Linked DNA regions of Homo sapiens: region 1 is linked to region 2. Evidence: promoter capture Hi-C in 16 types of primary human blood cells and fetal thymus (Javierre and others, 2016). All regions are on one chromosome and are shown on one strand. The core of a region is centred on a gene start or on the middle of the fragment in contact, and the rest is flanking DNA. Distances in the headings are between cores, read along the strand shown. Region 1 holds the start of LAMA4 (laminin subunit alpha 4). Region 2 holds the start of RFPL4B (ret finger protein like 4B).

What was found. Contacts are between HindIII fragments. The CHiCAGO score rates a contact against its expected background, and 5 or more counts as called.
Region 1: a contact is called between the fragment with the promoter of LAMA4 here and the fragment with the promoter of RFPL4B in region 2, in 1 of 17 cell types (monocytes). The highest score is 6.8, in monocytes.

Annotation. Positions count from the first base shown.
Region 1 is chr6:112,251,773-112,256,278 of GRCh38, forward strand. LAMA4 (laminin subunit alpha 4) reads right to left here and starts at 2,795. Exons shown (of 39, transcript NM_001105206.3): 1 at 2,687-2,795; 2 at 2,184-2,519. The coding sequence starts at 2,378. All of the region lies in intron 2 of LAMA4-AS1 (LAMA4 antisense RNA 1), which reads left to right. The HindIII fragment of the contact is 4,256 bases long and covers 1-3,669 here.
Region 2 is chr6:112,344,663-112,349,320 of GRCh38, forward strand. It overlaps RFPL4B (ret finger protein like 4B), which reads left to right and starts at 2,668. Exons shown (of 3, transcript NM_001013734.3): 1 at 2,668-2,745; 2 at 4,531-4,658. The HindIII fragment of the contact is 3,879 bases long and covers 283-4,161 here.

The DNA of each region.
Region 1 (4,506 bases), core at 1,545-4,044, 93 kb before region 2:
GGAACATAATTACCTCAATCTCACCCTTTCTACACCATATACTTTGACCTTCCTGGAATGACTAATATCTTCTTTCTGTTTTTCAAAACTGAAGGCCTCCACTGGCATTCTGAACCTATTAGACTCTGACATTACTACAAATTTAATTCACTACGTGACATTTTTTTTCCAGCTGGAAGAATATAGATAAACAGATATAATAATATTAAGTAAAAGAAAACCATAAACATAAGGTTCTAAGGAATATTCTCAAATAAGGGTTTCTTTTAATCTGATCATCATCCACATTTTTTATAGTAACAATTGTAACAACTCTTGGCATATATAGGGCATTTATACTATGTCAAGCACTATGCTAAGCACTCTATTTTATCTAATTTCATTACAATAAAAGTATGAGGTATGAAGCAGGCATCAATAAATTCTGTCAGTATCAGTTTATCTGCAGTCTGGGGATCTGTAACTTGACCAAGGTCAAAGAGCTTGAAATTTCAACTTGGGACCATCAGACTGAAAACCTGCAATCTGAAACACTTTGCTGTGCTGCCTTCCTATTATTTCACCAAACATATGAGCACATAAGAAATTTCCTAGGGTCTTAGCATTAATTTTAAGGTTCTCTAAAACTCAAAAAATTACTTTCCTATTTTTTTTGTGGGATGAGAGTTACAAAAAACAGTTGTATATGGCTTGTCTCTTTAGACCTAACAGATACAAATACAGGATGCCCGGATAAATTTGAATTTCAGATGAACAATGAAAACAAATTTTAATATAAATATGTCCTCTGCAGTATTTGGGATGTGATCAAAATTCATTCATTATTTATCTGAAATTCACATTTGAGTGTCCTGCAATTTATCTGCCAATTTTACTCTTAAGTAAAATTAAGCATTTCATTCAGGGACTTTACGTGCTCAAAGCAACAGGTGGAGATAATGCTTCCCTGGGGTTAATTCCAAGCCTGTAGAGAAGCAAAGCCTTCCCATTGCATGAAGTCCCTCCTGGTCTGGCTTCTCCCCAAGTTTCTGGGTATGAAGTTGACCAGAAGCCATGCTCCCTCTTTTTCATGGAGGCTACATTTTATACCACAGTGAGAGGTTGGCATATTCTGACCCTGTCCACTCTCTTTTTTGGGGCAATGTGGGTAGGGCTTACTCTGAAGAAGGACCATGTTCATGCACCTTATTTTTAATCATCAATAATTAATAACTATAATTGTACTAACAATTAACAGAATTCATAGCAATAATCCATGCATCAGTGATGTTAGAAATGGTGTCAATCCACATAACTGTTTTAGTTGTACAGTTGCTGTAACCATAGCTATAGAGTGTGGTGTTTGTTTTGCTAGGTCAATTGCTCCTTCCTTTCCCATGAACTTAGGTGACTTTATTTTCCTCCCTCTTAGCATGTCCCATGCAATGGGCATGCTGTTGTCTGTTTCAGTTCAGGGGTTCTTAAATCACTTGTTCTGGATTCATTCTCCTTTACCAGACCTCTACATTCTGGTTTTGTTTCCAACTTAAAAGCTATTGTAAGGTATTCAAACAGCAGCTCTTTGAATAAACATATTATCAATAGCATATCCTGAGGCTTGATTTTAATGGAAACATCTTGTTTCTGGAATACAATGGCTCGTTTCTACTTAAGATACCCTCTCAGCAGTTGTCTAACAGCTCCTTTCATGACCAGCCACTCTCACTCACCCCCTCACCTTCCCTGCTGCAGAAGACTTCTTGTCTAATATGAGACAAAAAGATCCTGCAGTAGTGTTCCCACTGTCCTAACAGCACAGAGGAGCAGGAAGCCAGTGACAGGGCACACACGTTAAGTGCCGTGGCTTGACAAAATGACTACTGGGACACGCAAGTGGCAGAAGTCACCGATGTGCTGCTGCAGTCCCCGGTGAGAGTCTAGCGGATGAACTCAGAGCACCAACACATGCACTCTCACCCCTTTGAGCAGACACATTCCGAAGCCTCAACTTTCAACTCTCAACATCCAAATGCAACTTACAAAGGAAAACTCTTTATTTCAAGTTTCCGAACTGACCTAGCCCAGGTGAAACTCTCAAGGCACTGGGGAGAGGAAAGAGGCGGAGAGAGAGAGAAGGACGAGTGTGGCACAGCCCGCGGGGGCGCAGGTGCCCCAGCAGGGTGGCAATGGCAGGGACACTGTACCTCGGCCGCAGGCGGCAGGCGTCCCAGAGCCACGCGGGGTTCGCTCGTCTCAGGCGGGTCTTGCCTGCCAACCGCTGAGCTCCCTTCAATGTCAAAAGGAAAAGCGTTGTCGTCCCCGGACGCGGCGCGGGAGCAGGCAGCGCTCCAGAGGAGCCACAGAGGCAGAACCGAGCGCCAGGCTGAGCTCAAAGCCATTTCTCCGCTGACATCCAGTAGTGCTCTTCCAGGGCTCGGGCGCTGTGGGTCTCCGTAGGTCTCCCGCGTGGTGCGGCGGTGCCTCGCTTATTTTCCCTCCTCTCCGTGTGCAGTATCCCGAGGTGGCTGCGCAACCAGCAGCTTAGGAAATAAAGGGAAAGTGCGAGAGTAAGGGAGAGTTCCAGCCTCTCTCTCCCTCTCTCTCTCTCCCCTTCTCCCCCTCTCTCTCCCTCTCCCTCTCCCTCTTTCACTTTTTCTCCTTCCCGCAGAGGTTCTGGCTCAAGAACCTACAGATGGACGGAGCTTACAGTACGGCATCAAAAGGCAGACGGATTGGGGTGAGCCCCGCCAGCGCTAGGCCACCTCCTCTCCCTGGCCGTTCGGGACTGGGGACTGCGCTGTCCTGGCTTCCTTCTCACATTCATTCTCACCACTCCCTTTTTACCTTCTACTCCCAGGCCCTCCCACTCTAAGCTGGCTTTTCAGACACTGAGGTCCGCCTTTCCCTGCGGTCTTCCCTCCCCTCTCAGTTTGGAGCCCCTCCAAGGGCTCCAGAAGAATATTCAGCTTTTGTGACGCTTCCTCACCACTCTTATTTATGTAGTCAAGGTACCGGATGTCTTATCTATATTTACATAGATATTTTATGTGGCCCCCGCTAGTTTGCAGGAAAGTGGGTGGAAAAGGGATTCCAGGGCAGGAACCAAAGGTAGATGATCTCTGAAGGCAGAGGGTCAGGGTGCCCACTTTCTTGAGCAAGGTTTCTCGGGTTTTTTCTGGGGGATAGACTGTTGCACTCTTTGTGCTAATATCTTCTCTTCAGATTCACTGGCCACCCCTCTTCCTCCCTCCAGTCCTCACCCAGAGGGCTTGGGAGAAGAATATCTTTCACTGCAGCGCTGGAAAATGACTTCATTACCCAAATGCATGAACTTTTATTTACAAAGACCATCTTGTTTTCATCCTAAAGAGGTGCTTTGTAAGGGGCCCGGAACAAGGCTTGCAGTGTATGAGCCTGTCAAGTATACTGCCTACAGCCCCGGCCTCTTCCTCTTGGCCTGTAATCTCATGCCTACTACATCTGTCTGAATCATGTAACCTTTCCAAGACTTCAGGGTGAAGTTGGGCTACAGCTATGTCAGGGGTGCCCCTGTGGATGGGATAGTGTCTGCAACAGCTGATAGGTACCTTTGTTTACATTGGCTTCATAACGAGCTCTAAACATTTCCACAAGATCCAACCATGGTTTAAAAATGGTCAGATGAGACAACCATAAAATGACACCCAGGTAAGCTTCCAGGTGAAATAAAGCATTTTTGTATAACCTAATCATAAAATAAATAAATAAAGCCTTTCCATAAAACCTAATCATTAGCTCCATTTCATAGAACAAAAGTCATTTTATCTAAGTGTAAGCAAAACCATTTATTTTGCACCTAACATGTGCCAGATACTTGGCATATGCTATTTGTAAACCTCAGCATTCCTGCAAAGTAGTACCATTATTTTCCTTTTACAGAAGAAGAAAGTGAGGTTCAGAGAGACTAGGACATTTGCCCAAGGTCGCACAGCTGGTGGAAAGCAGAGATGGGGTTTGGATCCAGGCCTCACTGATTCCAAAGCTCTCTTTTACATCTGTATACACGACACTGCAACTTTAAAATAAAGAGTATGAATTCAGAGGTGAAGGAAATGGACACTTTTATTTTTTGAGTGCCTCCCATGTGCAAAAAAATCACATAAATTGTCTCATTTAGGGCTGGGCGTGGTGGCTCATGCCTGTAATCCCAGCACTTTGGGAGGCCAAGGTGGGTGGATCATGAGGTCAGGAGTTCGATACCAGCCTGGCCAACATGGTGAAACCCCGTCTCTACTAAAAATACAAAATTTAGCCAGGCATGGTGGGAGGCGCCTGTAGTCCCAGCTACTCGGGAGGCTGAGGCAGGAGAATTGCTTGAACCCGGGAGGTGGAGGTTGCAGTGAGCAGAGATTTTACCACTGACTCCAGCCTGGGTGACAGAGAAAGACTCCAGCTCAAAAAAAAAAAAAAAAAAAAAAAAAAAAATTGTCTCATTTAATTTCATCTTTATGATAATCTCATGAAGTAGGGATTGTCATACACATTTGG
Region 2 (4,658 bases), core at 1,418-3,917:
TTAAATCAAAGCAACATATCACAACAGGTTCAGCAAAAGTAGATGTAAGAATCCAGATGTCTTTTATTAAGCAAAAATTACAGAGGTTTGCAAACATTCAAGACAATGGAACTCTTCTAAGTAATTGTTTTTGTTTTAGAAAATAGTTATTTGTTTAAATAAAACTATATTATTTATGTTAACATGTAATAGTTTTATTTTAATTAATTAGAGCTTTAAAAAATTCTCAGTTTGAATTTCTAATATTGTAAATATGAAGAAATATAATTCATATGAACAAAAAGCTTTTTGGATTTCTCATTTATGTATAAGAGTGCAAATGATATCACCTTACACCTGTAAGAATAATTTTTTCTTTCTTTCTTTTTTTTTTGAGACGGAGTCTTGCTCTGTCTCCCAGGCTGGAGTGCAGTGGTGCGACCTCGGCTCACTGCAATCTCCGCCTCCTAGGTTCAAGCAATTCTATGCCTCAGCCTCACAAGTAGCTGGAATTACAGGTGCCCGCCACCACGCCTTGCTAATTTTTTTATTTTTAGTAGAAACGGGGTTTTAGCATCTTGGCCAGGCTTGTCTTGAACTCCTAACCTCGCGATTCACCCGCCTTGGCCTCCCAAAGTGCTGGGATTACAGGCATGAGAAAAAAGTAAATAAATAAAAAAGAGAAGAGATAACAAATGCTGGCAAAGATATGAAGAAAAGAGAAACCTCGTACACCATTGGTGGGAATGTAAATTAGCACAGCTATTATGAAAACTAGTATGGGGGTTCTTCAAAGAACTAAAAATAGAGCTACTATGTGATCTAGCAATTCTACTTCTGAATATATATCCAAAGAAAATAAAATCAGTACATTGAAGAGATATCTGCTCTCCTATGTTCATAACAGCATTATTCACAGTAGCCAAGATAGAGAATCAACTTATATTCATCAACTGATGAATGCATAAAGAATCAGGATATTCCTCAATAGATGAATACATAAAGAAAACATGGTACATGTACATGATGGAATACTATCGAGTCTTAAGAAATTCTATCATTTTCAACAACATGGAACCTGGAGGACATTATGTTGAGTGAAATAAGCTGGTACCGAAAGGCAAATGCTGCATGATTTCACCTATACGTGGAATGGAAAAAAGTAAAAAAAAATGAACTCATGGAAGCATGGAGTAGAATGGTGGCTACCAGGCACTGGGATGAAAAGAAGACTGAAATGGGGAGATATTGGTTAAAAGGTACAAAATTTTCAGGTAGATAGAAGGAATACTCTTTGGAGATCCATTGTACATCATGGTGGATATAACTAATGATAATGTATAGCACACCTAAAAATTGCTAAGATAGTAGATTTTGAACATTTTCATGACAAAATGATAAGTATGTGAAGTGACAGATATGTTAATTGGCTTGATTTAATCAGTTCACAGTGTATACATACATCAGACAATTAAAAAACAAATAGTAAATCTGGGTAAAGAATATATCTCTTTTTACTATTCCTACAAATTTTCTGTGTCTAAAATTATTTCAAAATAAAATGAAAGAAAAAATAAAATGACATTTTTGAATAATTAAAAAAGAGAGTGTAAGGATTCTTGAGATTAAAATCTCAAGTTTAAAGGGTCTTGAGATTACAATTTAAAAAGTTTGAGCTCCTAAACTTATGTGATCTGCCCACCTTGGCCTCCTGTAATCCCAGCTACTAGGGAGGCTGAGGCACAAGAATCACTTGAACCTGGGAGGTGGAGGTTGCAATGAGCCGAGACTGAGCCACTGCACTCCAACCTGGGAGACAGAGCAAGATTGTGTCAAAAATCAAAACAAAAAAAAACCCCAGCAACGCTTGAGACCTGCTCCTGCAAGTATTTAACTCACAGAAAAGGAGATAGCACCAGGTAAAAATGAAGTAAAAGCTGTGTAAGCTGTGTGTTGGGCCTTGCAGAACAGGAAGCCTGAGAAAGGAGAGGTTATTTAGAATGCAGCCTCTCTTGGGGAAAACGTATATTCCAGCGATCCTCTCTACAATGGGACTTCATTCACCCTCCAAATCCTTTTTTGGAAGTTTGTGTCTTAGCTTTCCTCTGTTGTGACTTTTACTGCTCCTTCTGCTCTCGATACAGACACCATAAAATTTACCGTTCATCCAAGAACACTTTTGAGAGTAAAAAATGGAATTATTAATAATTACAGGACAATAGCCTTGCCTAGCTGCCATCTTTCTTATCCTGTCCAGTAAGTACCCCTAAGAGTAGAATTGTTGAGTCAAAGGACATGAAAACTGTTGTAGATCCTGTCCGCTCATGATTCTATCAGGAATAGGAACACCAATGATTACATTAGCCACGAGGTGATTAGGTTTCAGCAGTGCATTTCTGTATTTGATCTCCAACACATTTTGCTTTTTAAAGTTGAGTTCTGAAATTAGAGACAAGAGCAGATGGCAGTAGATTCACTCTAATTCAGGGAGTTATTAAGAAATTTTGAATTTTTTTACTATATAATTTGAAGCCTGCTTTAATGTCATCATCATAAACGGAAGGGTGGGTTGATGAGTTTACTCAGATTAGAGTGGTACAACCTTTGGGGCGGAGCCTCTGACTCTGATTGGTTGGACAATGTTTTCCAGGCAGTATAAAAACGCTGGTGTCTCTCCGCGGAAACTCCGAGAGGAGCAGAGGTCTGTAGAGGTAGAGACGTAGGCTTCGGATCTTTTAGAATTCTGCTGGAAGTCTCCAAGTCAAGGTAAGTTATACCTTCTGTTTAAGCTATTTCCAATGTCCTATTCTGTCTTTGGCTACAAACTGGTGTTTTCGAATGCCTTTAACTATTTATTTTAGAGGAGAAAGAACTAGTTTTTTCCTGTGCCAGGGAGCTTTCTTCACCTTTAACTATAACTTTGCCATTTAAATTTTTACATATGAACCTCAGGTCACTCTTTGCATGAACTTGTATTTTTATGTGTTTTCAACTACAATGGATTTAAATGGTTTTAAAATGGTTTCTTTTTATTTTCCAACATTTCTTAAAAGATTTCTGGGTTTTCGGCCGGGCGCCATGGTTCGCGCCTGCGCTTTGGGAGGCTGAGGTGGGTGGATCACGAGGTCAAGAGACCAGCCTGTCCAACATGGTGAAACCCCGTCTCTACTAAAAATACAAAACTTAGCCGGACGTGGTGGCACATGCTTGTAATCCCAGCTACTCAGGAGACCGAGGCAGGAGAATTGCTTGAACCCGGGAGGCAGAGGTTGCAGTGAGCCGAGATGGAGCCACTGCACCCCCAGCCTGGGCGACAGAGCAAGACTCCGTCTCAAAAAAAAAAAAAGACTTCACTTCGGGTTTTCACTTAAATATACTTGGCCACTTTTAGTAGTTGTGTCATAATTAGCTGAATCATTTTATTATTGTTAGATAATTCGATTGTTCCTGATCATTTGGGATGGTAGTTAACACTGAAATGAACAACTTGTGAATAAGTGTAGCATTTTTTTTCTTTTGTAAAATTGTTTTCTTAGATACATTCCAAGGTGGGTTAGGCAATTAGATTTCCAGCACCATGTTAAATTTCCCATTAAATTGAAAAAGATAACAGAATTTAAGAAAGAGGTAATCTCTGGTTGTCCGCCAGCCAGGCACCATGAGATTGGAATGCTGATCAGGACTTGGAAGACAAAGTTTTATGTGGGCAGATACCCTGTTTATTACACACGTTTGTGTTTCCAGAGTCCAGTTGAGGCCAAGAGCACAGAAGGGGCTCAATAAGTATTTGTTGGAAAGAGATTAGAGAATGTGTTCTGGGATGTAGGACAGTTCTAGTAACTCAGTCTTAGGCTGGCCTCATCGGTGTTCATCACTTCCTCTCTCTGGTAATGTTGATGCTGCTCCTCTTTCTGTCCCTCATTCTGTTACTACTGTCACCACTGAATGTGTGATTTGTGGGTTCTTGGTAAGGAGTTCTGCTAGTTACTGCTCAGTGCAGGCTCTTATTGGAGAACAGTCCTCTGTTCACATAATCTCAAAGGTGCTGTCCAGCTTTGCGAGGCTGTCTTTGGGTCATGGGTCTAGCCTGGTCCAATATGCTGTGCCCAGCATGTCAGAGACAGCTCACTCAAAGAATAATAGCCATGGTGGGAAGTCCTCTGGGAGCACCAGAGGCTCTCAAGCTTTGGGAGCAGTTGGGGTAACAGGAGGGCATCTTCCTTGTCTGGAACATCTTTTTGGTTTGTATTCAGGCATGATTATTTTGGAGAAGTTGATGACTATTATATTTTTATTCACATTAATTCAAGCCTTAATTAGTTTTCTTAGAGTGCTTTAAAGCATTTCATCTAATAACACTTTGTCCTTAAACTTGATTCTTTTATGGGCTTCTCATTTTGCAGTGGATTTTGCTGGCTTTACTCACATGTGGTAATTTTCCTGGAAATTCTGAGGATTCCTTAGAGTCACTTTTCTGTGATGATTAATGTAGAATTGGCTTTATTTTCATTATTGAATTTAGACATGAACATTCTTTTTCCTGAACTGCAGAGGATCTACAAAGAAATACTGAGTGGAGACTATACTGAGATTCTGTTAAAGACCCACTTGAATTCAGCCCCCATTAGGAGAAACTTTGGCCGGAGCAGCCAACACATCACCTGGAAGTCTTCAGACTA